Regions from separate parts of the Homo sapiens genome. Here regions 2, 3, 4, 5, 6 and 7 are each linked to region 1. The links are contacts of gene promoters, found by promoter capture Hi-C in blood cells and fetal thymus (Javierre and others, 2016). All regions are on one chromosome and are shown on one strand. The core of a region is centred on a gene start or on the middle of the fragment in contact, and the rest is flanking DNA. Distances in the headings are between cores, read along the strand shown. Region 1 holds the start of TRMT6 (tRNA methyltransferase 6 non-catalytic subunit). Region 2 has its middle 3.2 kb from the start of LINC00658. Region 3 overlaps LOC107985411 (a long non-coding RNA gene). Region 4 overlaps LINC00654 (long intergenic non-protein coding RNA 654). Region 5 has its middle 9.7 kb from the start of LINC01729. Region 6 has its middle 29 kb from the start of LINC01729. Region 7 overlaps GPCPD1 (glycerophosphocholine phosphodiesterase 1).

Region 1 (3,114 bases), core at 435-2,934:
CGTGAATTGCTTCCTTAAGTGAAAAAAATTGAACAATCATTGACCTCACCTACCAGAAGTACGTTTTCCTGTGGTTTTACTCAGATCAGGTCTGTGTTCTCTTTCTCTCCATTTTCCTGAGAAGTTCCCACCACCTCTTCCCCTTTTCCAGCTTTGAAATCTTCCTCGTCCAAATCCTCTGCCTCTATACTCTCCATTCATCTCTCCTAAAAGATAGATATTAAAAAGGTCTTCACCAAAACTGTAAGGAAAATAGTGCTCTTAAAAATGTATTAATAAAAAGGGAAAAATTAATGTATTCTAGGTTCAAGAGTAGCAAACAGGCTTGCAAAGTTGTACAGCTATGATACAAGACCCAAATATTCTGCAGTTAAGTTTCTAATCTCTATCGCTTTTTAAGGTATACCATAATAGTTTAATAACTATTAAATATGGTTTACGTATACTAGACGCTCACAGGTTAAAAATAAGGACAGGTACTGTACCTGTTTACAAGTCCCCATTACAGAAATGAAAATAGGACAGGTAATTAACTCTATGAAAACTTATTTGCAGTATTTGAGACTTCTTATTATAGGGCAGGACAGGATGAACATAATTCTGGCCTGTGAGACACTAGGGATACATCATCATAGCTTCTTACATACAGTCAATCCTGCAGTGTCACATCCATTTTTTGTGCAGTTTTTCTGTAAATCCAAAACTGTTCTTATAAAATACACGTCTACTTAAAAATGATTCATATCCTAAGTATACAAGTAAATAAAGATATACCTGTACGCTGCAGTGCAATTCATTATCAAATACTCTACCCAAATCCTTACTTAAAAGGGGTTTAGTTAATAAAACAAGATAGTAACTAGAAAGTTCACGATTTAACGGCATGACAGGGCTCCAATAATTAGGCATTACACATTATGAAACTGATGCTCAAAGAAATTAAGCAAACCGATCAAGATCAAAGTTGTTTGTCGACAGTACAGAGATAAAACTTTCAGCCTCCCAAGCTGAGGCGCTCCTTCAACAACGCTGCGTGCCATACCCTTCTCAAACGAGACAATATGCTGAGAACAGTAACAAATTCAAAAAAACGTTAAGAAGTAGGACTGGAGAAAGAGTAAAAAGAAACAGTTGGGTACCTGTGCTTCTTCAAATACTACTTTATTTACATCTCCTAAGGCTAAAGTTCTTACTTGCTTGGGACAGAGGTCCCAAAGCTCTCCTAGTTCACAACTGGGCCGGCTCCAGGATACGCGCAGATCTGTCCGGCCGGATTCTCCCTCCCTCCCTCCCGTAGAGAAGCACCACGGGGCTAAGAGTCTCCGGGATCTTAGCTCCTCAGGCGACTCCTGCCAAGTCCGCAGTTCTCTTCAGCCGCAGCTTTCCTGTCGTCCCCGCGCGGTGCTGAACCCCATCTGTCTCAACGGCTCGGGAAACTCAGTTTCCCCACCGCAGCTTCCAGAAGGTGTCTGTAGCGCACAGCGCCGCAAAAATGCCTCAAGCGAAAATCAGGTCTTCCCCTAAATTCTTTTTTGGCGCTTCAGTGATCCAACTTCCGCTCAAAGAAGCGGCAAGACGAGAGGGGCGGGGCGGAGTGCAGCCAATCAAGGAGTTTGGCCAGACGGAAGCCGAGAGGCTTCCGGAAGCGGTCTTGAGGTCTGGGCCGGAAAGCGGAAGCGGCGTGCAACACGTGGGGGCGGTGCCGGTCGGAGGGCTCCTAGTGCGCCAGGTTGTGGGAAGTGAGGCTGGCGGTGGCGACAACCGAGGAGGAGGGGCGGGACGCCGTGGAGCACGGCGACCGGCTGAGCGTCATGGAGGGCTCAGGGGAGCAGCCGGGCCCACAACCACAGCATCCCGGAGACCACCGCATCCGCGACGGCGACTTCGTGGTGCTGAAACGTGAAGATGTGTTTAAAGCAGTACAAGTCCAGCGGAGAAAGTAAGTCAGATCGCTGATTTTAGGGGTCTCCCGCCCCCACCTTGTAGATACCCCCTCCCTCCAGGTTTCTCCACAGAATTCTTCCGCCAGGGTGCCATTCTTGGCTCTCTCGGTCCCCATTCCCCGCCCTCGTTGTCTCCTCGGGTCTTTCTGTCACAGAAGGCTTTTCCACCAGGATCCCGTCTTCGAACCTCATAATCTCCCTTAACCCTCCTGTTTTTCCCGGAGCCCCCTCCATGATTTCATATCTGGCCGTCCACCTTCAGCATCCTTTTCAGTCTTTCCACAGAGTTCCTTCCCCAGAATTCCATTCTTGGCCCTAGGGTGCCAATGCCTCCCTCTCCACACCCTAATCACCTGTCCTGAAGTTCTTTCCCTAGGACCTTGGGATCTTCACTGTCTTTCCAGAGACACCCCCTCCTTTCTTCACTTTAGGATCTCATCCTTGTCTCCAGAGTCTCCTTCAGGTTCCCCCTTTTTTTCCACCATAGATCCTCCTTCTTCCCTAATCCCCCAGTCAGGATCTATCCCACAAAAAATGAAACGTCTCCTACCTAGTCTGGCTTTCTATCCTCTTCTCTACCCAAGCAGGATACACAGAATAGATGAAGGAGACAATTCACCACAGAGTGTGGAATCACTTTGAGTTTCCCTCGTTTTACTCACCAAAGGATTCAACGCTGGGAAAATTGCTAAAAAGCAATTTGCTCAAGGCCTCAGAACTCCAAATTAGGTTTGGTTTGTGCACCTGCTGGCTAGTATCGCTCTGTTTTATAGAAGTAAAGAAGTGGGATTTTGATAACTTTCTGGAAGGGCTGGTGAGGTTGTTAAGTCCTAAGAGCTTATTAATGGTGAAAATTTATTGGGATATTTGGATTAATTTATCTGAGAAATACAACCACAGTGTTTTTGTTTTTGAGACGGAGTCTTGCTTTGTCACCCAGGCTTTAGGGCAGTAGTGCAATCTCGGCTCATTGCAGCCTCTGCCTCCGAGGTTCAAGCGATTCTCCTGCCTCAGCCTCCCTAGTGGCTGGGACTCTGGCACCATCACACTCGGCTAATCTTTTTTTTTTTTTTTTGTATTTTTAGTAGAGACGGGGTTTCACCATGTTGGCCAGGCTGATCTCGAACTCCTGACCTCAGGTGATCCACCCGCCTCGGCCTCCCAAAGTGCT
Region 2 (3,114 bases), core at 323-2,822, 500 kb after region 1:
TCCTGCACGAGATCCAAGAACTTTCTCTTAGGGTCTGGATTGGGACCTCTTTTTTTTTTGGCAACACAAGGACATGCCAATTGTAACTTTAGGTCTACAAACTAAGTCTAGTTCTTAATTTCTTTTTTTTTTTTTTTTGAGACTAACTCTCATTCTGTCACCCAGGCTGGAATGCAGTGATGCGATCTCGGCTCACTGCAACCTCTGCCCCCTGGGTTCATGCGATTCTCCTGCCTCAGCCTTCCAAGTAGCTGAGATTACAGGTGCATGCCACCATGCCTGGCTAATTTTTTTTTTTTTTTTTTTTTTGAGAAGGAATTTCATTCTTATTGCCTGGGCTGGAGTGCAATGGCGTGATCTCAGCTCACTGCAACCTCCGCCTCCTGGGTTCAAGCGATTATCCTGTCTCAGCCTCCTGAGTAGCTTGGACAGGCATGCGCCACCACACCCAGCTAATTGTTGTATTTTTAGTAGAGATAGGGTTTCACCATGTTGGTCAGGCTGGTCTCGAACTCCTGACCTTAGGTGATCCACTTGCCTTGACCTCCCAAAGTGCTGGGATTACAGGCATGAGCCATTGTACCCGGCCTTAATTTTTGTATTTTTAGTAGAGATGGAGTTTCACCATTTCATCCAGGCTGGTCTCGAGTTCCTGACCCCAAGTGATCTGCCCGCCTTGGCCTCCCAAAGTGCTGGGATTACAGGCGTGAGCCACCGTGCCCAGCCTAGCTCCTAAAATTAAAGTTGATTCCATGCTGATAATGTTGATCGCAAGCTTAGATAGAAGTGCAGGTGCAGAATAAAGACAAGACTCATTCCTATACCTACCCAGAGACATCTGCATACTTGACTCTTCCTTTACTCTCTTTTTATTTTCAAACATCCAATTTGTCTTATGTAAAATGTAGATTTACCAGGCAGCAGCTAGAGTCTCACAGGAATGTAGCCATTCGCCTTACCACCTGTCTGCCCTTTTTCCTAAAAGCCTTTCCCCCATTTAAGGAAATGTGTAAATACTAAATCCCCTGAAACTCTCTTGAGAAAAACAGCCACAGATGTACCTGTGGCTTGTATTTTTCCCGGAAGCACCCTCAAGCTGACTTAATAAACCTCGATGATTGAGATTTATGCCTTGGTCATTCTATTCAGATGTCAGAAGGACCCATGGGAAGACTCAGAGAGAAAGGTCTGTAGGAAGAGGCTAAGGAGCCCAATCTTCTCCCAGAAAATGGACGCTTCGGGTGGTCATGAATTGTAGGGCTATTGGTACTGGGGTGAGTAAAGAGGAAGAGAAAGAGAGCAAGGCCCCAAGGAGAAGGGGAAACAGGGAGGGAGGAAGGGGCCATGCCCTGTCCTCCCCTCCTCCAGTGTCCCTGCCCCTCTCCAACTTCAGAATTCCCATTGCTCCTTGAGAACTCAGACACTAGCTTCCCCACCAAGGCCTCCTCCCTCTGCATTCCCCCAGCCTGTCCATTCTCGGTCACACTGACTCCGAGTCTGGTCAGCTGCCTGTATGCCTGTCTCACCCAGTTAACTTAAATTCCTTGGGGTCAGGAACAATGCTTTCTTCTTATTTTCCATGCCACAGCTCCAGTTACTGTGACTGACACACAGAAATATTGGCTTGGAGTCGATTATCTCAGGGATGCAGCTCAAAGTAAATGTGTCTTGTATAGAGTGGGCATAGGGATGCTTTAATGAGGAACGAGCAAGTCCCAAGAGGAGCAAGGAAAACTTGAGCTGCAACCACTTTGCATTTCAGATGATGAATTAGAGCGGTTGTTATCGAATCTGCCACCAGAGGGCGATCCAGGTAAAAAAGATCTTCGGGCTACTCTTCAGCCCGGTGACCTGATCTTCCCCCAAACTCAGATCCTTGCTGCCTCCCAGAAACAGCAGACACCTAAGTCCAATGTAGCTTGCCAGGATCTCAGGGAATGAAATTTTATAGTTTGCTGGCATTTTCCTCAGGGGAGCAGAGGCAAGAAAACAATCAAATCCAAGTTTGCGCCACTGCACACCAGCCTGGGCGACAAAGCAAGACTCCCGTCTCAAAAAAAAAAAAAAAAGAAAAGAAAAGAAAAGAAAAGAAAAGAAAGAAAACAATCAAATCCATGGTCTGCTGTTTACTGGATGAAGAATAAGACTGCCTAAAGGCAATGTGTTTAGTACAAAGGTGTCATAAGCTCTGAGATGGTTCCTGCTTTACCAATTTCTGGAAGTGTGACATTAAAGCAACCATTCTCTTTTCTGGGCCTGGTTTTCCTCTGTAAAATGTCAGTTCAAGTTCCAGCCTGTCTTGGGATGTCATCGGCCTTTACAACCTACTTGGGCTATGGCCCTGCGATTAAGTGCACAGTGGAAGCTTAGTCCCCTTGCTTTTCTGCCTCTCTTAGGGAACCACAGTCACAGAAACCAGCACTTGCTGCCATAGGAACTGCTAATATCTTGGACATTCCCTGTATTCTCTCCCAGCCCAAACAGGCATAGCCAGAGGAGTGAGACATGCAGAAAAATGAAAGAAGCCCAGGGCATTGTTCAGCAGTGAGCCTAAAGTCTGTACATGCGATAGCATAATATTTGTGAAAATTCTTGCAAAATGCAAAGCTGATGGCATATGACTTGTAACTCATTCTTGTATATAACAGTAGATCAACATGCAACTGAAGAAAGCACTACTCAGGATGGAAGTAGCCTTGGGAGGGAGGCAAGGAGTAGTGAGGAGGGAGAGAATGAGCTGTTTCTGTAACATTTCATTTCATAAGAGAGATGGATGGACTTCAAGCATCTGTGGCAAAAGGTCACCTCAGATAAATCTGATTGGTTCCAAATTATTTTCTGTAATCCTCCCTATGTTTGACTCATTATTTTAATTAAAAAGAAAAAATATTTAAAGTAATTTTAAAAATAACAGAGCTCACCAGCCCCTTAGAGCGCAGCTTGGTCTAGGGTAGTTTCTTTAACTAGCAGAGCTTTCTGTAGATACAGACATGCGTTCACAAAGTATCTTTAGGTTTCCCAGGCCCGGAGGGGTGAGATAATACTAAGGGAGGGAGATCTGCTCTTGGAGGAGGGACCTGCTCTAACCAGCCCTGTAGCTCTGCAAATCTTTGG
Region 3 (3,114 bases), core at 421-2,920, 480 kb after region 1:
ATTAATACATTAAAAAATAAGAAATGGGAGGGAGGGAGGGAGAGAGAAATTGAGGGAAAGAGGGAGGAAACACCAGGCAGAAGCTGTATCCTCTTGAGCTAACCTTAGAAGTCACCTAGAATCACTCCCACCACACTTCACTGCTTGGAGAAGCCACAAGCTTCCATCCAGATTGATGGGGAGGGAAACTAGACCCCACCTTTCAGGAAGAGGAAGGTTAATCACATTGCAAGAAGAGCAGGTGGCATGGAATAAATGTATAGATGTGTCCATCTTGGGAAAATACGATCTGTCCCGGCAGTGTAGGGGAGGTGGAAAGTGGTGGTGCAGTGGCTAAAAGTGCAGGCTCTCTCAGGCCCCAGCCCGAGACAGGCCAATTCAGTCTGTCTGCAGGGAAGCCTTGGGAATCTGTACTTTCACAGGATGGGGCTGACATGCAAATGCAATGGGTGACCCTTTAGAATTACTGCCACATGAATTGAGGGTTTGAATTCTAGAGTTAGAAGAATTCTTTTGGACAAGTCCATTAACTTTTATTACTCTCAGCTTCCTCAGCCACAAAAGTGGCATCACGGTTCCTACACCATACGTGTATCATAAGGATTGAAATAGCATTCTTAACGGGCTTAGTGGAGTGCCTTGCATGTAGAAAGTGCCCCATAGATGGTATTATTATTGTTATCACTGTTTTCAAATTATGGGAATAGACATACCTGAAAAATTAGAGCACTGACAGCCCATTCTGGAGTTCTCAGGACACCAAGTCTCCATCAGACTCTGCCTTTGCATCTGGAGGCCAGCTGGAAGGCCAGACTGCTTTGGTGACAGGGAGAGGATGGCATGGCTGTCAGTGGATCTTGAGACTGAGAAGGTGCAGGGCTTGCTTATGGACCCCACAGTTGGAATGTGGAAGTGTCAGGTAAAGCCCAGGGATCCTGGGACCCCGACTTGTGTTCCACTGCTGGTCTCCTTCCCTCAAGTGCCCAGCTGGCCTCAAGTTTCCTCTCGTTGAGTGAGGCTTGTTGCCAGCTTCCTCACTCACCCTGGGGAAGCAGAAAGTCTCAAAATGCAGGCAGACACTGTGGGCAGGAAGGGCATCTCCTGTCACAGTGGGTGGTGCCTACATAGGCATAGGGGACTCCTGCGGGAACCACAGTATCGGGAGAGCTGGTGCCTTGTCACTGAAACCAGTGGAAAGAAACATTTACTTATAGAAGCTATGCAAACATACCTTTCATCACACCACTCTCCAGCTCCCTAACCCTCAATGGCTCCCCTGTGCCTTAAGAAAATCTAACTGTGGACCTTATAAGACAAAAATATACCTAAGCCCTCCAACCCAGGGAAAATAAACCAAGTGTTCTCCTTTAAGCACATCCCAAGCCCTCCTGTCTTTGTTCCCAGCTTCTCCCTACTGTCCTTCTTGCTCAGATCTTATTGTCATTGTCATTGCAATGACAGTAAGTTCCTTTCTCTCTTCTTTCCAGCCTCTACCGGCCACTGTGGCTCCAGAGTGAACTCCTCACATCTTCCTCTGAATTCTTCTAGAGTAACTCTGTAGCAGTCATCGACAGTAGGTCCCATTTCATCAGTAGGAAAAGCCTGTTTTTGTCTCCCTTTGAAGACTTTTCTGTCAGTCTGCCTTAGATTTTTCTAATTCCCTGCAGCTCCTGTTCAAAAACTGTTTCCCCCAATTGACTCATACAGTGCCCAAATTGTACACAAGCCAATGCAGATTTCAGAAATCCTATTGTCACAGGATCCTCTGGGTGTCGCTTCACCAGCTAGAAACCTCATGGCCGGCAGCGCCTCTACTTGAATATTGCTCACGCCCACTGGGTTCATTCCACCCATTCAGCCTGGCAGGCTGTGCCCAGCTTGCACTACCAGCCCAGATCCCATGCCTGCCGAGGGCAAGCCAGATGCAGAAAGGCGAAGGGTGTGTGAGTGAGCAAGTGCGGAGTGTGGCCCCTGCACACAGCCAGGCACGCCAACTGCCGCAGCAGGGCGGACGGCTCCAGGCACCGGCATAGGCACTGGCTCCATGCAAGGCTGCGGCTGGAGCAGGCATACTACAAGCGGCTTCTCCTGCAGTTGCCAGCATCTGGATGAAGGGAATGTGGTGGCTCCTGAAAACCTGGAGATGCCAGCAACTGCAGATCCTCTACGGGTTGGGGGTGCATGTTACAGCTCTCTCATTCCCACCACCCGCAGCGCGACAGCATGGCAAACAGCGGTGGGAGGCAATGTGTTTCAGCCCATTTGTGTTACGGCTTGTTCAATCCCATCACCCCAACTCCAGCCCACAGCTCCTGGGCTGGCCTGCCCCGCCACTGCTTCCTGTCACATCTGGCAGCCGCCCAGCACTGGTGGAGGGCGGGAGGGCTATAGTGTTACAGCTCTGGCTTGGGAATTCTGAGGTCTGCGTCCCCAGAAGGGTCACCACTCTTCACTCCCACAGTTTGGTGAACAGGGAAGCATATCACGACCTGCAGCTCAGTGAGCTGGCCAGGAAAGTGTTACAGCCCTTTTTGTGCACTCTGTTCGCAGGTCCTGAGTTGTTATCGCAAGTCCAGGAAGAATGAGGTTACTCAGGCAACTGGAGGGTGAGGATGGAGAAGAGCTTTATTGAGCAACAGAACAGCTCTCAGCAGAGAGGAGACCCAAAGTGGGTAGCTCCTACCTGCAGGAAGGTAATCCCAATGTGTGTCTGAGTCCTGCTGAGTCTAGGGGTTATTATAGGTGCAGAATGGAGGAAGTGCATGCTGATTGGTCCATGAGTGGGAGGAAGTGCATGCTGATTGGTTCAAGGGTAGGTCCAAAAAACCAGTCACCATCAACTGGCTGAAAGGCATCAAGGAAATTCTTACTCCCAGTCAGGGACTCCACCTGGAACTGGCAGCTTGGCCTCCAGGCTTCAGGCCATCCCTGGTTTGAAGGTTGGGCCTCACCAGGGACCCACCCCTTCCCACCTAGGTACCTGTCTGCCTCCTGCCACCATCACTATTGTTAAATCTCAGGGTGGAAGGCATGAGGGGTGGGCAATGGGAAGTGTAAATTTGTGAATTATCACTTTGGCTAAGTGAATGACTTAGTTTACAGTAATCTGTCATC
Region 4 (3,114 bases), core at 189-2,688, 450 kb after region 1:
GTGCAGGTTGCTCACAGCATCCTACAAAGTAACTGTCTTCCCAAATCTCACTTACCTCTGAGTTTCTGCTGTATTCCTGTCTTTCTCTCTCTCTTTTTGAACTGGAATCTATTACTTTGGATGATGCATGCTGGCGTTTTCTAAAGTTTTCTGATTGATTGTGTCTTTAAAAAATAATCTGATAGTATTTTAGCTTCTTGAATTTTGTGGCATATTTTTAGGCCTCTCCTAAACCCATTTTTGAGTGCTATGACATTGTTCATGTATGAAGTTATGCCAGTAGAAACAAAATGCTGTCATATAGGCTCCCCTAAAACTTCAAATCTGGTCCAGATCTTAGACTGGCAGCTTCTGCTGTCATTGGATCTCAGTGAGACCTTTGCACCCATTTCCTCCCTTTGTGATTCATCCACGGACATCCCCATCTCCTTGAGAACAATCTCAGGAATATTCCTTGCCTTCTTTCGGCTCTCACTCCATCTCATTTTCTGCTGTTCACTCGGGAATAAAGAGATGTCCCACACTTTAAAGAGTAAAAACAAAAATTGGAGCTCAGAGAGGGTGAACTTGTCAATATCACACAGAGCTGGGAGTGTGGTAAGCCCTTGAAATGGGGCTCAATGACACCGCTACCTCCCAGGGATTCCTAATGTCTGAGGGTTCCAGTGAGCTGAGATGAACCCAGGGCCTAAGAAGAACTCTCTGACCTCCTCACCTCCAAAGCCCCACCCAGTGCACATGGCCTGAGGCGTCCATGGTGATGGTAAAGAAACCTCACCTGCCATCTCTCCCATTACTGCCATGTCCCCTCTCATCCTATTCTGTGCCAAATGTCCAGATGTGATCAATAGAATCAGGAGAAAATTGAGGCCTGAGGGGAGGGGGCCAGACTCTGGGAGTGGAGAGTGGATTGAAGTCAGACTAGGGCTGTTCAGCAAGGAGTTCAGGGCCTTCAAGTGTTGGGAGCTTGGCAGCAATGCCAAGGGGAATGGGGGTGGATTTGGGTCCAAGTTTATGTTCGAAGAATATAAGCATGATTTGGAGACTCCTGATGTTCATATGCCCCCATCAAGCAGAGCTAGGGGTCGCCAGAGGAGAGAATGGTGCTAGAAGTTCAGGTGAGAACAGGGCAGACCCCTGCATAAATGTGGGATCTCTCTGTTTGAATCACGGCCCAAACACCGTGGCAGGGACACTCCCAAGGAACTCAAACATGTATTTTATCAGGGCTTTAACATAAGGAATATTGATTCTTAAGAAAATTGGAAACATATGAGAATCTAATTTACTCTGTTATGAGATGCCATACACCTGGAAGAACAGGTTAACTGTCAAATTACTACCAAATTGTTGCAAAAAATTGCCAATGAAGCAATCATACAAAGCTCAGGTAACAGAGTGGGTGGCCATCACTCTGGGAGAGGGAGATAGCACTGGAGAAGGTCCTTGTGACTCAGATCAAAGAGAGCAAATGGCAAAGAAGGGGGACAGTTGCTGTTTTCTGAAGTAAAGCCTCTTAGGTGTTATTTGACCATTTGTTACCTGTGAATGTATAATTTTGATTTTTAAAATAAGTAGAAAGGAGCCTCTTTCTTAAAACCAACCAATCTCTGAGCCCCACAGATGGTATTCTGGTTTCTTGCAGGAGGTTCTGGGTCCCACCCGCCTGCCCCCTTCTAGGACAACCCCACCAGCAAGGAGGTCTTTTAGTTCCTTCTGTGTGTGTTCACCTGCTCGTCCTGGCTTGGGCCCCAGGGAGCCCAGGAACCTCAGGGTTCTCTCAGCTGCACTTCCATCCGTGGTGCCCAACCTCAGTGCCTAGGACTCTGTGTGCCTGACCTCCTCCAGGCGGGGCTGCTCCCTCCAGGTGTCCACCTGGTATGGGCATCCCGTGGCAGCTCTCCTCTGATGACCGAGTGTGGTGGGGGTGCTAAGGCCAACTTGCTGCTGGCACGCCCAGAACTTATTTGCTGGCTGTTTCAAAGACTCCCTAAAGGCACCATGGATTTTCCTTAGAATACAGTTCTGTGCAGTCCCGCCCATCCTCTTCCCCTCTGTTTCCCACTAGGGCTGATACTTGCTTTAAGGTCTGATGGCTCACCCAGTCCTTCATAATTTTCACAATGTTATGTTCCTTCCTAAAACCCTTGCAGTTTAATCTGCTCTTGGCGTCTGCTTCTCAGAGGAGCTGAGGAACAGAGACTTCAACCCTTCTTCTCTCAGTTCCTGCTGCCCCTGTAGTGAGGCTGACAGTTGCAGACCATAGAGCCAGCCTGGCCTTGCCCAGAGCATACATGACCTCTTAGTAAGGCTGGGCCCTGCTAAGGGCTATGTTTTGCACACGTTCCTGCTAGTCACATCCAGCACATCTGGGCTACCACTTGGATGGCAACATTACATTGAAGACCACTGTGGCCATGGCAGGAGTAGACAAGGTGGCAGTCTTGTCTTCAGTCGTCATGGAAATCCCAGCTATGCAGCACTAGCAGGTGTTTTGTAATGGAGGATCAGATGCTTGAGCTTCTGAGCAGGCCCCCTCCCTCTACTGCCTTCTGTCAGGGTCTTGGCAGCAGCCGGCTCTGGAAGGCATCCCGGCTCTGGGTTCAAGAGCTTGCTGGGCTTCTACATGAAGGTGTGAAGTGTGAATGTTACCTTTTCTGATTTACACTTCTGTTTTCTGCTACAAACTTGGGATGTTTTCTGAGGGATGCTGAATAGATGGGGGTGGATGGGGGGAGGGAGGCAGGGGCTAGAAAGTGTTCTTCTGGGGCCACCCTCCAGCCTGGGGCATCTGATGGATGAGGAGGGGAGAATCTTTGAGATCCTGTTTATGAGGGCACTGCAAATACCACATTTTTTTCTTGTTTGCAAATTCTAGTGGAGAAGTTTTACCAGGTTGGGAGAGAGGCCTCAGAATTAAGTCCCTGTCTCCTGCCACAGTTTACACCGGTGAAGCTTCCTGGCCGAGCATAAACTCCCAGGTGGAGTACAAACAGCCTTCAACAATGGCACCATCATTGGTACCAATGGCATTGAGAGGAGGTGGCACTGACACCCTAAGTGGGTGGCACTGACACCTAAGACTTATGGTCTTCTGCTGCCTGGAGAGCTTTG
Region 5 (3,114 bases), core at 238-2,737, 430 kb after region 1:
GAGAGATTGCCAGGGACTATGAAGGCGTCTGGGGATACATAGCCTATGGTACAAGTTTCATTCCAGTTAGTGGGGAGGCATTGGTGAACTGATTGGCCACAAATATAGATGGCTCCTTGGGTTTTAAGACAAGTAGAGATGTCCAAATGAAATAAGTCGGTGAGGACAGCTTCAAAAAATCCTGAGGCTGCCAACATGCCCAGGTAGCTCATGGCTATTGTCATACCTGGTAAGACTTGGGTGCCTGGGGTTGCTAGCTGATTCCAATATGTGCCCGGAATTAGAATATTGATCCAGATTTTTACATTACCCATGCCTCTTATTTCATCTGAGCTGTAGCCAGAGATCACTGGTTGGTTCACAGAAGTAAGCAGGATCAGTCTAAATTGCAGAAAAAAACCCTCAAAAACAATTGATGAGACTAGAATCTAATAACAGGTGTACCATAGTCATAGTTTTTTGTTTTGTTTTGTTTTGAGATGGAGTTTCACTCTTGTTGCCCAGGCTGGAGTGCAATGGCGTGATCTCAGCTCACTGCAAACTCTGCTCCCCCAGGTTCAAGTGATTCTCCTGTCTCAGCCTCCCAAGTAGCCGGGATTACAGGCACGTGCCACCATGCCTGGCTAATTTTTTGCATTTTTAGTAGAGATGGGGTTTCTCCGTGTTGGTCAGGCTGGTCTCCAACTCCCAACCTCAGGTTATCTGCCTGCCTCAGCCTCCCAAAGTGCTAGGATAACAGACGTGAGCCACCGCACCCGGCCCCATAGTTCTTAAAACATAATTTTCCTCTCTCCAGTCCTCATTTTTATTAAAAACAGACCACGATAGGACTGATTTGTTTGCAAAATAAGCTTTAGTCTTTTTATACTGATTATTTGCATAAAGCACAGCAAGAATAACTGTTTGCCATATAGGCTCCTTTTTATATTGGCTTTGATGAAACATTATTCCATGAGGAACCTCAGATAAGACTTTAAAGCCTTGAGCCCAGCCATGGTTTTTTGCCATCACATACCTGTATGAGTTGAGTAAATTTCTCTCCTCCTGAGGTCCTAATATAACTTGGGCCTTCCGGGCCTGCTAGGAACTGATATTCTTTACTTATCACAGGTTAGGAACCCTGTACAGGAACTGTATAGACTAGGTATGAGGCCAGTTTTCTCAAGGGGTTTTTATTGGCTCTATAAGTCAACTTTGATTCCTTAAAGGAGTCTGTTTGTATCTCAAAGAAAACCATTCCAGTCAAAGCCTTGGTAAAATAACCAGTGTCTCCAATTGTGTCCTGTTAAAAAAGAAAACAGATTCACATTGCACTTATGCAGATAACTATATTGCTATAAATTAAGAATACAAATAGTTTCCACATTTTGGAGAAATCCAGTAGAGAGAAATATACTCCAAATTTTGTTTACAGGAGTATTCTTTACTCAATTTTTAAAAGCTGTAAATAGCTCAGAAAAGTTGTCTTGGCTTCAAAAAACAAAACAAAGGGTTAGTAATTCTTTAAGCAAAAAGTCATAAAAGGATTATTTTAGTCTTCCATTAGTTCAGTTCATGTAGTTAACTCCTGTTCTGCTTCATATTCATGAACATTTAGCTCTCCATGAGAGTCCTGAAAGTTTTTTTCTTCTATTCTAATGTCACAATCTCCAAAGTTATTGGAAACCTGCATTTAAGAGCATGTGTTGGAGTCCTATAGCTGATTGTAAAATCACCTTTTATTTATTTATTTATTTACTTATGTATTTGAGATGGAGTTTCACTCTTGTTACCCAGTCTGGAGTGCAATGGCGTGATCTTGGCTCACTGAAACCTCTGCTTCCTGGGTTCAAGCAATTCTCCTGCTTCAGCCTCCCAAGTAGCTGGAATTATAGGCATGTGGCACCATGCCTGGTTAATTTTTGTATTTTTAGTAGAGATGTGGTTTCTCCATGTTGGTAAGGCTGGTCTTAAACTCCTGACCTCAGGTGATCTTCTTGCCTTGGCCTCCCAAAGTGCTGGGATTACAGGCATGAGCCACTGTGCCTGCCTGTTAAACCCATTTTTGAGCTACTTGGTATTTTCTATTTATGGAATGTGCCAAAATTTAAAAATGCTACCATAAAAGGCTCCCCTAAAGCTTCAGTGAAACCTGGCCCAGGTCTCAGATGCTTATGTGGTATAGTGTATACCAATCCAATTCTATCCTGTCTTATAACTTTAAGACATAAGAGGTTTTCTTTTTTATTTATTTTTTTATTATACTTTAAGTTCTAGGGTACATGTGCACAATGTGCAGGTTTGTTACAAATGTATACATGTGCCATGTTGGTGTGCTGTACCCGTTAACTCATCATTTACATTAGGTATATCTCCTAATGTTATCTCCCCCATCCCCCTACCCCACGACAGGCCCCAGTGTGTGATGTTCCCCACCCTGTGTCCAAGTGTTCTCATTGTTCAATTCCCACCTATGAGTGACAACATGCAGCGTTTGGTTTTCTGTCTTTGCGATAGTTTGCTCAGAATGATGGTTTCTTGCTTCATCCATGTCCCTAAAAAGGCCATGAACTCATCCTTTTTATGGCTGCATAGTATTCCATGGTGTATATGTGCCACATTTTCTTAATCCAGTCTATCATTGATGGACATCTGGGTTGGTTCCAAGTCTTTGCTATTGTGAATAGTGCTGCAATAAACATACATGTGCATGTGTCTTTATGGCAGCATGATTTATAATCCTTTGGGTATATGCCCAGTAATGGGATGGCTGGGTCAAATGGTATTTCTAGTTCTAGATCCTTGAGGAATCGCCACACTGTCTTCCATAATGGTTGAACTAGTTTACAGTCCCACCAACAGTGTAAAAGCATTCCTATTTCTCCACATCCTCACCAGCACCTGTTGTTTCCTGACTTTTTAATGATCGCCATTCTAACTGGTGTGAGATGGTATCTCATTGTGGTTTTGATTTGCATTTCTCTGATGGCCAGTGATGATGAGCATTTTTTCATGTGTCTGTTGGCTGCATAAATGTCTTCTTTTGAGAAGCGTCTGTTCATATCCTTTGCCCACTTATTGATGGGATTGTTTGATTTTTTCTTGTTAATTTGTTTGAGTTCATTGTAGATTCTG
Region 6 (3,114 bases), core at 285-2,784, 410 kb after region 1:
GGCTCACACCCGTAATCTCAGCACTTTGGGAAGCCAAGGTGGGTGGATGACTTGAGGTCAGGAGTTTGAGACCAGTCTGGTCAACATCTCTACTAAAATACAAAATTAGCCAGGCGTGGTGGCACATGCCTGTAATCCCAGCTACTCGGGAAGCTGAGACAGGAGAACCTCTTGAACCTGGGAGGCAGATGTTGTAGTGAGCCAAGATCATGCCACTGCACTCCAGCCTGAGCAATACAGTGAGACTCCATCTCAGGAAAAAAAAAAAAAAAAAAAAAAAAAACATACCCAATGGGTAAATGGTCTCCAAGTTCCTAGAAACCAACTTTATAAGTGATCTTTAGAAGCACAGTTTCTTGTGTCAACTAGTGTCTCTAGTTGAGATAGTAGTGAGAGTCTGTCTCCACTGACTTTCAGCAAGGTTGTTCCATGAGAAAAGGGCCAAGGTTTGGGGAATGAGTGTGATGAAGATATCCCAGGCTTGGTGTTAGAAGGAAGTGGCCATGTGGATAGCAGACGCAGAGGTGCCTAGGCTCCCAGCATGTTTCTGTAATTGCCTGATGGGCTTGTCCTCCCCATTGCACAGACAAAATCAATTCACTGAGACCATGGCATTACAGTGAAGAGTTTAATTGATGCAAGACCCACCACCACACAGGAGATGGAGTTATTACTCAAACTGATCCCTGTGAAGGCTTTGAGTTTAGCGGTTTTCAAGTATAGTTTGGTGGGCAGGGGACTAGGGAATGCTACTAATTGGTTGGGGATGCTATCACAGGGGCATGGAAAATGGTTTGCCTCTGAGTGGGGGTCCCAGAGGACTGCTTAGTCATGAGTCATGAGTCTGGGTGGAGTTAGCCAATTGTCAGAAGTGCAGAAGTCTGAATAGACACCTCAAAAGACCAATCTTAGGTTCTACAATAGTGATGTTATCTACAAGAGAGATTGGGGAAGTTGCAAATCTTGTGACCTCCGGAACAATGGCTGTTTTTCCTTTACGCCTCCATCCTAGCAGAATTCGGGCCCTTCTCATTCTCCTAACCTTGCGGCCTTTCATTAGTTTTACAAAGGTGATTTAGTTTTGGGAAGGGCTATGGTAGTCTAAGGTTAAACTATAAACTAAATGTCTCCCAAAGTTAGTCTGGCTTATGCCCAGAAATGACCAAGAACAGCTTGGAGGTTAGAGGAAGGATGAAGTCAGCTATGTTAGATTTCTCTGTCTAATTTTGCAAAGGCAGTTTCATGTGGAGGACTCTGCCAGAGATACAGAATTTGTGCACCATGCCTCAGCCTCTCTTCTTTTAGGAAATATCCCAGAGATGCACATGGCACATAAATTCCCAGCTGGTCCCTTCTGGGAATTTGTAGGTGCGTCTTGGAAGATTCCCCAATGTCCATGTGTTGGACAGTCCTCCCACCTCAGCCCCGCAAGTAGCTGGGACTACGGCGCATGCCACCATGCCTAGCTGGGACTACAGGTGCGTGCCACCCACCTTCCCCTCTGAAAGCATTTCATGGTTGTCACCAAAGTGTGTGGAGTCTGGACCAACAACTCCACTAGCACATTGGTAGAGTCTTAGTGAGATGACTTTGGCTCAAAGAGGAGTCCCCAAAATGTTTATACCTCTTGTAACTAATCATTTTTAAGTTTGGGAAACATTAGGAAATAAGGAAGCCAATGACTATTGATGGCAAAAATGCAGACGCTATGACTCCTTTGCTGTGACTCTGGCAGTGAATCCTGTACTGGACTAGCTCAAGTATGGGCAGGGAAGTGCTATAGCTTGTATTGTTTAGTTCCCAGTTTCCCTGTGGGGCACTATTTGGGGTACAGGAATTGCTCATGATTTTACATAACGCAGAGATACCTACTAGACAGAATTTCACCAAGTCATGGCTAGGCACTGGAGGCTCAGTGGTGAGCACGTGGTTACCCCCTCATGAAGCTCAACAGCCGCAACATGCAATGCATTGGAATCCTGCCTCCACCTGTGTGAATCTCTGTTTGAGCATCAGTCTCTCAATCTCTCTCTCTCTCTCAGACAGGATCTCACTCAGTCACCCAGGCTGGACTGCAGTGGCATGATCACGGTTCACTGCAGCCTTGGTGCCGGGGGCTCAAGCCATCCTCCTGCCTCAGCCTCCTAAGTAGCTGCAACTGCAGGTGCATGCCACCATGCCCAGCTGATTTTAGAAAAATTTTTGTAGCGATGGAGTTTTGCCATATTACCCAGTCTGGTCTGGAACTCCTGGGCTCAAGCGATCCTCCTGCCTCAGCCTCCCAAAGTGCTGGGATTACAGGCGTGAGTCACCATGCATGGCCAATAAAACCAAGTTTTTTTTTTTTTTCAAATGGAGTCTTGCTCTTGCTCTTGTTCCCCAGGTTGGAGTGCAATGGCGCGATCTCAGCTCACTGCAACCTCCACCTCTGGGGTTCAAGCAGTTCTCCTGCCTCAGCCTCCCGAGTAGCTGGGATCATAGACGCATGCCACCACACCCGGCTAATTTTTGTATTTTTTGGTAGAGACAGGGTTTCATCATGTTGGCCAGGCTGATCTTGAACTCCTGACCTTGTGATCCACCTGCCTCAGCCTCCCAAAGTGCTGGGATTACAGGTGTGAGCCACTGTGCCCGGCCTAATAAAACCAACTTCTAATGACCACAGCTCTTTGCCAGCAACGGTGACCCAAATAAGTCCAACGAACAGGGAGGCTGTGGAATGGCACATGAGTCACTCTGGACCAGCAGGAAAATAGATTTTCACAGGTCTAGGGCAGGGCATGAATGAGGTGAGCACTGGACCGCTTATCATGTCGAAAGCAAGGAAGGTATCAAACACTAATAGGATGAAGTCAAAGGAACCCAGAACCGACTCACCTATGATGGGACAAGTTTTAGCACCAAAACAGATGTTTACAATAGACTGAAACATATCATAATGACAAAATTACAAAATGAAGCAACAGCAAGACCCCCCGCATTTGTCACCACTAGAATTTTCCAGGGAATAGGTCAGTTCTTTGACAATTGAGAAATAAAGGGACAGAATCAAGCATTTATCCTACCTTTCTATATTAGCTCCCTTGCTTCTTTCCTCCCTCTCTCTCCCTTCCT
Region 7 (3,114 bases), core at 199-2,698, 390 kb after region 1:
AGTGAGAGGGAAGCTTTTAAGACCTATGTCTGATCATGTTGCTACTTAAAACTCTCCCACAGTTTTCTGTGTCACCTAAAGGAAAAGCTGAAGCCTGAGGGCCCTATATGAGCCAATCTGCCACCCCACCACCTTCAACCCTCTTTCCCTCTCTGACCTTCCACAAAATTCCCCCATCTGCTGTTTCCCATTCTTTGGAGAAAGACTTCCGTAACAATTTAAATGTCACCTCAGTGAGGACTTTCTTGAATAACTGATTTCAAATAACAACTTCTATTCACAGTGCACTCCCTGACTTGTCTCCATATCATTTATCATCATCTGACACACCACATATTCTGTGTTACATTTTACTTGTTTTTCTCCCTAGCCCCTTTCCTCCATCCTCCTGGGCACTAATGCACACATGCAAATGAGAATATAGGCTCCATGAGGAGGGCAAGGCTGTTTGCCTGATTTGTTCATTGCTATTGAGGTTAGAACAATGTGGGGCATCCAGTAGGGAGTCAAATAATTTATTGAACAAATATTTTTTTTTCCATCAGCTTCTTTGGCAGCCACTAATCTGAGAGTCAAAAAGGTTTCTTTAGTATAAAGATATTTGGGGTTAGAAGGGATGTCATTTACTCTGCTGAGGGATTAGCAGACTTGCTCATACAGGTGTACCTCAGCGATAGTGAAGGCTGGGATCCAGACCACCACAGCAAAGCAAGTCCTAAATCTTTTGGTTCCGAGTGCATATAAATGTTATGTTTAGGCCGGGCGCAGTGGCTCACGCCTGTAATCCCAGCACCTTGGGAGGCTGAGGCGGGCAGATCATGAGATCAGGAGTTTGAGACCAGCCTGACCAACATGGTGAAACCCTGTCTCTACTAAAAATACAAAAATTAGCCGGGTGTGGTGGCACATGCCTGTAATCCTAGCTGCTCGGGGCTGAGGCAGGAGAATCACTTGAACCCAGGAGGCAGAGGTTGCAGTGAGCCGAGATCGCGCCACTGCACTCCAGTCTGGGTGACAGAGTGAGACTCTGTCTAAAAAAAAAGTTATGTTTATACTACATTGTAGTTTACCAAGTGTACAGTAGCGTTGTGTCTGAGAAAACACAGTATATATCTTAATTTTAAAATACGTTATTACTAGGAAATGCTAACAATCTACCTTCAGCAAATCATAATCATTTTGCTGCTGGAGGGTCTTGCTTTGATGTTGATGGCTGCTGACTGATTAGGGTGGTGGTTGCTGAAGGTTGAGGTGGCTGTGGCAGTTTCTTAAAATAAGACACAAATGAAGTCTGCTGTACCCGTGGACTCTTCCTTTTACACAATATTTCTCTGTTGCACATGATGGTGTTTAAGAGCATTTTTCACCCACAGTAAAACATCTTTTTTATTTGTTTTTGCTTTTTGAGACAGAGTCTCACTCTTAATACCCTGGCTGGAGTGCAATGGCATGATCTTGGCTCACTGCAACCTCCATCTCCTGGGTTCAAGCGATTCTTCTGCCTCCTGGGTAGCTGGGATTACAGGCGCACGCCTGCCACCATGCCTGGCTAATTTTTGTATTTTTACTAGAGAAGAGGTTTTGCCATGTTGGCCAGGTTCTTGAACTCCCGACCCCAAGTGATCCACCCGCCTTGGCCTCCCAAAGTGCTGTGGGATTACAGGTGTGAGCCACCGCGCCCTGCCAAAACATCTTTATTTTTATTTTATTATTATTTTTTTGAGATTGAGTCTCGCTCTGTCGCCCAGGCTGCAGTGCAATGGCACAATCTCGGCTCACTGCAACCTCCGCCTCCCAGGTTCAAGTGATTCTCCTGCCTCAGCCTCCCGAGTAGCTGGGACTGCAGGCATGCACAACCACATCCAGCTAATTTTTGTATTTTTGGTAGAGACAGGGTTTCACCATATTGGCCTAGGCTGTTCTTGAATTGCTGACCTCAGGTGATCTGCCTGCCTTTACCTCCCAAAGTGCTGGGATTACAGGTGGCCACCACTCCCTGCCCCACAGTAGTAAGTACATCTTTAAATTGGAGTCCATCTTCTCAAACCCTGCTGCTGCTTTATTCACTAAGTTTATGTAATATTCTGAATCTCTTGTTGTCATTTAAACAATGTTCAGAGCATCTTTGTTGGGTGGATTTGTCTCAAAAAACCATTTTCTTTCCTCATCCATAAGAAGCAACTCCTCGTCTGTTAAAGTTTTATCATGAGATTGCAGCAATTCAGTCACATCTTTAGGTTCCACTTCTATTTCTAGGTCTCTTTCTATTTCCACCACATCTGCAGTGACTTCTTCCACTGAAGGTTTGAACCCCTCTGGCATCTATGAGGATTGATATCAGCTTCTTCCAAATGCCTGTTAATGTTGATATTTTGATCTTGTCCCATGAATCAGAAATGTTCTTAATGGTATCTGGAATGATAAAAAGTTTTCAGTTTACCTTGCCAAGATCCTTCAGAGGAATCACTGTCTGTGGCAGCTACAGTCTTTGAAATGTATTTCTAAGGTAATAAGACTTGAAAGTCAAAGTGACTCCTTGATCCATGGGCTGCAGAATGGATTTTGTGTTAACAGGTATGAAAGCAGCAATCTCTGTTAGAGTTCTTGGGTGACCAGGTGCATTGTCAATGATCAGTAATATTTTTTCTTCCTGAGCCGTACGTCTCAACTATGGGCTTAAAATATTCAGTAAACCATGCTGTGTACAGATGTGTTGTCATCCAGACTTTGTTGCATTTCTGGAGCACAGACAAAGTAGATTTAGCGTAATTCTGAAGGGCCCTACAATTTCCAGAGTGTTAAATGAGTATTGGCTTCAACTTAAACTCATCATCAGTTGTATTAGCCCCTAACAAGAGAAGCAGCCTGTTATTTGAAGCTTTGAAGCCAGGCATTGACATCTCTCAAGCTGTGAAAGGTCTAGATGGGCATCTTCCAATAGAAGGCTGTTTTGTCTACATTGAAAATCTGTTGTTCGGCCGGGCCTGATGGCTCACGCCTGTAATCCCAGCACTCTGGGAGGCCGAGGTGAGCGGATCACAAGGTCAGGAGATGGAGACCATCCTGGCTAACACGGTGAAAACCCGTCTCTACTAAAAATACAAAATAATAATA

The links. Contacts are between HindIII fragments. The CHiCAGO score rates a contact against its expected background, and 5 or more counts as called.
Region 2: a fragment that was not itself captured here is called in contact with the fragment with the promoter of TRMT6 in region 1 in 1 of 17 cell types (M0 macrophages); the score reaches 5.1 in M0 macrophages.
Region 3: a contact is called between a fragment that was not itself captured here and the fragment with the promoter of TRMT6 in region 1, in 1 of 17 cell types (M1 macrophages). The highest score is 5.2, in M1 macrophages.
Region 4: a fragment that was not itself captured here is called in contact with the fragment with the promoter of TRMT6 in region 1 in 4 of 17 cell types (erythroblasts, fetal thymus, M0 macrophages and 1 more); the score reaches 7.9 in erythroblasts.
Region 5: a fragment that was not itself captured here is called in contact with the fragment with the promoter of TRMT6 in region 1 in 16 of 17 cell types (M0 macrophages, endothelial precursors, M1 macrophages and 13 more); the score reaches 16.3 in M0 macrophages.
Region 6: a fragment that was not itself captured here is called in contact with the fragment with the promoter of TRMT6 in region 1 in 17 of 17 cell types (naive CD4 T cells, fetal thymus, naive B cells and 14 more); the score reaches 35.2 in naive CD4 T cells.
Region 7: a fragment that was not itself captured here is called in contact with the fragment with the promoter of TRMT6 in region 1 in 17 of 17 cell types (naive CD4 T cells, fetal thymus, naive B cells and 14 more); the score reaches 31.6 in naive CD4 T cells.

The regions. Positions count from the first base shown.
Region 1 is chr20:5,949,103-5,952,216 of GRCh38, reverse strand. TRMT6 (tRNA methyltransferase 6 non-catalytic subunit) reads left to right here and starts at 1,684. Exons shown (of 11, transcript NM_015939.5): 1 at 1,684-1,939. The coding sequence starts at 1,812. MCM8 (minichromosome maintenance 8 homologous recombination repair factor) reads right to left here and starts at 1,565. Exons shown (of 19, transcript NM_032485.6): 1 at 1,194-1,565; 2 at 54-206. The coding sequence starts at 201. RefSeq lists an enhancer at 1,549-1,688. The HindIII fragment of the contact is 3,685 bases long and covers 1-3,114 here.
Region 2 is chr20:5,447,363-5,450,476 of GRCh38, reverse strand. No RefSeq gene overlaps it. Among named protein-coding and RNA genes, the nearest start is that of LINC00658, 3.2 kb to the right of the region's middle. The HindIII fragment of the contact is 1,590 bases long and covers 778-2,367 here.
Region 3 is chr20:5,464,366-5,467,479 of GRCh38, reverse strand. LOC107985411 (a long non-coding RNA gene) reads left to right here. Exons shown (of 3, transcript XR_001754485.1): 2 at 2,551-2,693. Among named protein-coding and RNA genes, the nearest start is that of LINC00658, 20 kb to the right of the region's middle. The HindIII fragment of the contact is 3,015 bases long and covers 163-3,114 here.
Region 4 is chr20:5,496,520-5,499,633 of GRCh38, reverse strand. LINC00654 (long intergenic non-protein coding RNA 654) reads left to right here. Exons shown (of 2, transcript NR_015406.2): 2 at 1-3,114. The region is part of intron 2 of LOC124904863 (a long non-coding RNA gene); the gene reads right to left. Among named protein-coding and RNA genes, the nearest start is that of LINC00654, 6.5 kb to the left of the region's middle. The HindIII fragment of the contact is 3,038 bases long and covers 1-2,957 here.
Region 5 is chr20:5,518,145-5,521,258 of GRCh38, reverse strand. No RefSeq gene overlaps it. Among named protein-coding and RNA genes, the nearest start is that of LINC01729, 9.7 kb to the right of the region's middle. The HindIII fragment of the contact is 1,268 bases long and covers 854-2,121 here.
Region 6 is chr20:5,537,674-5,540,787 of GRCh38, reverse strand. No RefSeq gene overlaps it. Among named protein-coding and RNA genes, the nearest start is that of LINC01729, 29 kb to the right of the region's middle. The HindIII fragment of the contact is 8,068 bases long and covers 1-3,114 here.
Region 7 is chr20:5,554,146-5,557,259 of GRCh38, reverse strand. The region is part of intron 19 of GPCPD1 (glycerophosphocholine phosphodiesterase 1); the gene reads left to right. Among named protein-coding and RNA genes, the nearest start is that of LINC01729, 46 kb to the right of the region's middle. The HindIII fragment of the contact is 2,865 bases long and covers 16-2,880 here.